Linked DNA regions of Homo sapiens: region 2 is linked to region 1. Evidence: promoter capture Hi-C in human tissues and cell types (Jung and others, 2019). All regions are on one chromosome and are shown on one strand. Each heading gives the region's core, a stretch centred on a gene start or on the middle of the fragment in contact. The rest is flanking DNA. Distances are from core to core; before and after follow the strand shown. Region 1 holds the start of CNGA3 (cyclic nucleotide gated channel subunit alpha 3). Region 2 overlaps TMEM131 (transmembrane protein 131).

Region 1 (2,700 bases), core at 7-2,506:
ATTTTCTCTTGAAATTATTATAATTTCAGGTTCCTTTCAGAAGCCCAAGTAATAAAATAAGAATTCTCCTCTCTTCCAACTTCTGTGGCTTTGGCTTCCTTTTGTTGATTCACCACTTCCATTTATTTGCTCTTCCACTACCAGAGTCCCTTGAATCTGAACGACTAAGCCTGATTTTCTTTGGGGGAAAATTTGTCTAGGTTTTACTTCCCCCCTTTAAGACATGACATGTGTGCACACATGCACATGTGTGTGTGAGCCATTCTAATTCTTTATTTCTTCAGTGAAAAACATACACTTCATCTCTCCCTTCAAGTATTGCATGAACTCGATGAACTTAAGCCTTCTAAAGATAATGTGTTCAATTAACAGGCGATTTGATAAGTATGCTAGGAAATGCCATGTACTCCAAGTCCTCAGAGAAGCTCTGGTTAGCTGGCTGCGGTGGGATCTGCTTTTGTGGAGTTTCTTCCCATGAGGGTATCAGTCAAGAGAACCTGGAACCCAAGAGGCTTGTCCCAGGCAAGGAGGCTTGGATTCCTCCCGGGACCTGCTCCTGCGATCCAGAACCAGAGCATGCAATTGCTGGTGAGGGAAAGGCAGGATTCGGTCTTCATCCTTCATGGAGAGGTGTGTTCTTGGAAGTACACCTTCTGGGAGGAAAATGAGTTTTAGTAAATAAAGTTATTTTCTCCAAAAAGAGTTTAAGTTCCTTGGGCTTCAATAGGGGTTAAATAATTACTAGCTGGATTGGTGGTTTTAATTTTTAGTTCAGGAAATCCGATGTTATCTGATGTGATGGAAGGAAACAAAAACTCTGCAAGGAGAATACACATTGTCCCAAAGAGAAACTTGTTTCTAACATCTTCCCTAAGATGGCAAACGGGTCCAAGACTTTGTGCGTGTGTGTGTGTGTGTGTCCCCACCTTTAAACTTCAAACCCCAGATCTCTGTTGCTTACTCATCCAGTGTGGATTACACTACCAGCAAAACATCCCAGGAAGGAGTCCAGGGTGGCCGCCCACAGTTAGGAGAGAACCCAGAACGGAACGACGGACTTGTTTGCTTTCTTGCCCCTGACTCTCCCCGTCCTCCCTGGGAGGGTTGGGGATGTGAACTAATGACTTCTGCCTCTTTCGGACCGCCTTTGAGGCTCCAGAGCCTCACCTTACTTTCCCACGGAGAGGGAGGCCACAGGCTCCTTCAGCAGTCGCCGAGCAGAGTCCTGGGCCGGGAGCGCGGGGGAGGGAGCGAGCGGAACTGCGCCTAGGAGGCCGAGGGAGGAGGCGCTCCGCAGACCCTGGCGCGCCGCGGAGAAGCTCAAACTTTGGCAGGGTAAGGATTTTTAGGGGCTCTTGAGCTGGAATTTTTTGGGGGGCGCCGGGAGGTGTGCTGGGGCCGCAGACCCCATACAGGAGGTAAGTTAGAGAACCACACGCAGGGGAGGGATGCTGCTGCTTCCAGGGGCGGGCGCGGCGCTGTCCGCAGCCCCCGGTGCTGAAACGGGCCGCGGGCTGGAGAGAAAGTGAAAAAGGATCGGCTACGGCCTCGGCTCCCACTCCCCGGCTCCCATACCCCTCCAGTCCAGTTCAAAGGACAGGAAGCCCTCCCCGTGCTCCCCAAGCCGATCGCACCCCCTTTTACTCACGTCCCACAGCCGCGCTGGGCCGAGCCCGCTGAGCCGTCGGGGCGGGAGGCAGAAGGAGCAGGGCTGGCTCCCGCTGGGGACGGGTAGGGCTTGCAGCCGCGACCCCACCCCATACATTTCCTCCTGTCACGCTGTCCCCGGACCGCCAGTCCGGGAAGGACCCACTTCCCCGGCTCCAAGTCGGGAGCGGGCGCCGCGTCTTCTCGAGTCCGCGCCGCGCCGGGGGAGGTTGAGTCAGTGGCCTGGAGGGAGCAGGGCCGGGGGAAGGCAGCGGCGAAGGACTGCCCCCCAACCCAGGGGACTATTTTCCCTTGGGGATTCAAAGAGAAAGGTAGGCTGAGGAGGAGGCGAGAATTAAAATTCTTTTAGGAGTGCGCGGTTACTTTTTTTAATGATAAAATCACACCCGGGATCTCGGACGCCCGGGGCTTAGTGCTCGGTGATGGAGGAGAAGGGGCGGCGGGCTCTCTGATCCTCTGCAATCCCCTAACCGGATAAAGGCGCCGGGCTCCCAGCCGTCAGGCTTTTCTCTTTAGCTCAGCCCGCGGCCCCTCCCGACGCCCCTGGGGGCCTTGGCGCGCAGGCCCTCGCAGTCCCGCAACCCCGGGCCGGGTGATTCATTTTTCTCCCTGTGTAATCTCCCTACTGAGCGGCGCAGCTGGGACTTTAACTTCGGCCCTCTGCAGCGGGGGTCTCCGGTTGGCGCGGCGCGTGAGGGAGGATGAATGGCGCTGGAACCTAGAGGACCTGGAGCCGGCGCCCCGGCCTCTTTGGCCTGAACCAGGTGCCTCTGACACGCAGTCCGCCGGCTCAGGCCTCGCCGGAAGCTGGCGGGAGCAGTCCCTTGCAGCGAAGCCCGGCACCCCGACGGCAGACGCTCCCCATCACATCTTCCAAAGGGGCGAGGCTGGGATCAGCAGGAATGGCACCCACCCGGGTTCAGACTCCATCCCGGAGTGGACAGCTCGGTGCCCCTAACATTATGCACTGTCCGCCACCCCCTCCCCCCAACACATACACACTTTCATTCATGAAAACCAGCAAGAATAGTG
Region 2 (2,700 bases), core at 34-2,533, 470 kb before region 1:
TAGGCTTAAAGAATAAATTTAAACAAAAAGTCTGAAAACAAAGAAAGCTAATTTGATCTGTTTATTGTGAAACAAATTCTACAGGAGAGTAGGAATGATCAGGGTAATGACAGGAGTCAGCACTGGGGTCAAGAAAGAAGCAAGGGAAATTCTAGATGCACCCTTCCTGAAGGGCCTGATACTTTTTAGAAGATGCCATGAGTTAGAAAGACTCTAACTCCATTTTTGATATTCAACTGTTGATAGTTTTCAAGCCCCAATGATGCCCCTTTACCTTTAGCCCCAAACCTGGGCAAGCCAATCAAAAAGCCCTTCTCTCTCGGAGCTAGTGAGAAGTTCCAATCATGCAAACCCACTCCAGCCTTGCTCCCCAACCGCAATAAAAACCAATTGCTGGCAAGATGGCCGAACAGGAACAGCTCCAGTCTGCGGCTCCCAGCGAGATGGATGCAGAAGGCGGGTGACTTCTACATTTCCAACTGGGACTGGTTAGACAGTGGGTACAGCCCACGGAGGGCGAGCCGAAGCAGGGTGGGGCATCACCTCATCTGTGAAGCACAAGGGGTCAGGGAATTTTCTCTTCTACCCAAAGGAAGCTGTCAGGGACTGAACCTGAGGAACTCTGGCACAGATACTGCGCTTGTCCCATGGTCTCTGCAAGCTGCAAACCAGGAGATTCCCTCCGGTGCCTACCCCACCAGGGCCCTGGGTTTCAAGCACAAAACTGGGCGGCCGTTTGGGCAGTCACCGAACTAACTTCATGAGTTCTTTTTTTTCCATACCCCATTGGCACCTGGAACACCAGCAAGACAGAACCATTCACTCCCCTGGAAAGGGGTGCTGAAGCCAGGGACCCAAGTGGCCTGGCTCAGTGGGTCCCACCCCCATGGAGCCCAGCAAACTAAGATTCACTGGCTTGAAGTTCTCGCTGCCAGCACAGAAGCAGTCTGAGGTCAACCTGTGACAATGGAGCTTGGTGGGGGGAGGGGCGTCCGCCATTGCTAAGGCTTGAGTAGGTGGTTTTACAATCACAGTGTAAACAAAGTCACAAGTCACGGGGAAGTTCGAACTGGGCAGAGCCCACTGCAGCTCAGCACGGCCGCTGTGGCCAGACTGCCAGATTTCTCTTCTCTGGGCAGGGCATCTCTGAAAAAAAGGCAGCAGCCCCAGTCAGGGACTTATAGATAAATCCCCAGCTCCCTGGGACAGAGCACCTGGGGAAAGGGGCAGCTGTGGCCGAAGCTTCAGCAGACTTAAACATCCCTGCCTGGCAGCTCTGAAGAGAGCAGTGGACCTCCCAGCACAGCGTTCGAGCTCTGCTGAAGGTCAGACTGCCTCCTCAAGTGGGTCCCTGACCGCCGTGTATCCTCACTGGGAGAAAACTCCCAGTAGGGGCCAACAGACACCTCATACAGGAGAGCTCTAGCTGGCATTTGGCAGGTGCCCCTCTGGGAAGAAGCTTCCAGAGGAATGATCAGGCAGCAATCTTTGCTGTTCTGCAGCCTCCGCTGCTGATACCAAGGCAAACAGCGTCGGGAGTGGACCTCCAGCAAACTCCAGCAGACCAGCAGCAGAGGAGCCTGTCAGAAGGAAAACTAACAGAAAGGAATAGCACGTCCACTCAAAGATGCCATCCAAAGGTCACCAACATCAAAGACCAAAGGTAGATAAATCCAAAGATGGGGATAAACCAGCACAAAAAGGCTGAAAATTCCAAAAATCAGAAGGTCTCTTCTCCTCCAAAGATCACAACTCCTCGCCAGCAAGGGAACAAAACTGGATGGAGAATGAGTTTGACGAACTGACAGAAGTAGGTTTCAGAAGGTGGGTAATAACAAACTCCTCCAAGCTAAAGAAGTATGTTCTAATCCAATGCAAGGAAGCCAAGAACTTTGAAAAAAAGGTTAGACAAATTGTTAACTAGAATAACCAGTGTAGAGAAGAACATAAATGACCCGATGGAGCTGAAAAATACAGCACGAGAACTTTGTGAAGCATACACAAGTTTCAACAGCCGAATTGGTCAAGTGGAAGAAAGGATATCAGTGATTGAAGATCAACTTAATGAAATAAAGAGCAAAGACAAGATTAGAGAAAAAGGAATAAAAAGGAATGAACAAAGCCTCCAAGAAATATGGGACTATGTGAAAAGACCAAATCTACGTTTGATTGGTGTACCTGAAAGTGACAAGGAGAATGGAACCAAGCTAGAAAACACTCTTCAGGATATTATCCAGGAGAACTTCTCCAATCTAGCAAGACAGGCCAACATTCAAATTCAGGAAATACAGAGAACAGCACAACAACACTCCTCGAGAAGAGCAACCCTAAGACACATAATCGTCAGATTCACCAAGGTTGAAATGAAGGAAAAAATGTTAAGCGCAGCCAGAGAGAAAGGTTGGGTTACCCACAAAGGGAAGCCCATCAGACTAACAGCGGATCTCTCTGCAGAAACTCTACTAGCCAGAAGAGAGTGAGGCCCAATATTCAACATCCTTAAAGAAAAGAATTTTCAACCCAGAATTTCATATCCAGCCAAACTAAGCTTCATAAGTGAAGGAGAAATAAAATCCTTTACAGACAAGCAAATGCTGAGATATTCTGTCACCACCAGGCCTGCCTTACAAGAGCTCCTGAAGGAAGCACTAAATATGGACAGGAACAACCAGTAGCATCCACTGTAAAAATATACTAAAT

What was found. Contacts are between HindIII fragments. The study calls those that stand out against the background at their distance.
Region 2: a contact is called between a fragment that was not itself captured here and the fragment with the promoter of CNGA3 in region 1, in 3 of the 25 tissues and cell types used here (heart left ventricle, heart right ventricle and thymus).

The regions. Positions count from the first base shown.
Region 1 is chr2:98,345,200-98,347,899 of GRCh38, forward strand. CNGA3 (cyclic nucleotide gated channel subunit alpha 3) reads left to right here and starts at 1,257. Exons shown (of 8, transcript NM_001298.3): 1 at 1,257-1,335. RefSeq lists an enhancer at 1,757-2,268. The HindIII fragment of the contact is 6,521 bases long and covers 1-2,700 here.
Region 2 is chr2:97,872,079-97,874,778 of GRCh38, forward strand. All of the region lies in intron 4 of TMEM131 (transmembrane protein 131), which reads right to left. Among named protein-coding and RNA genes, the nearest start is that of TMEM131, 120 kb to the right of the region's middle. The HindIII fragment of the contact is 4,393 bases long and covers 1-2,700 here.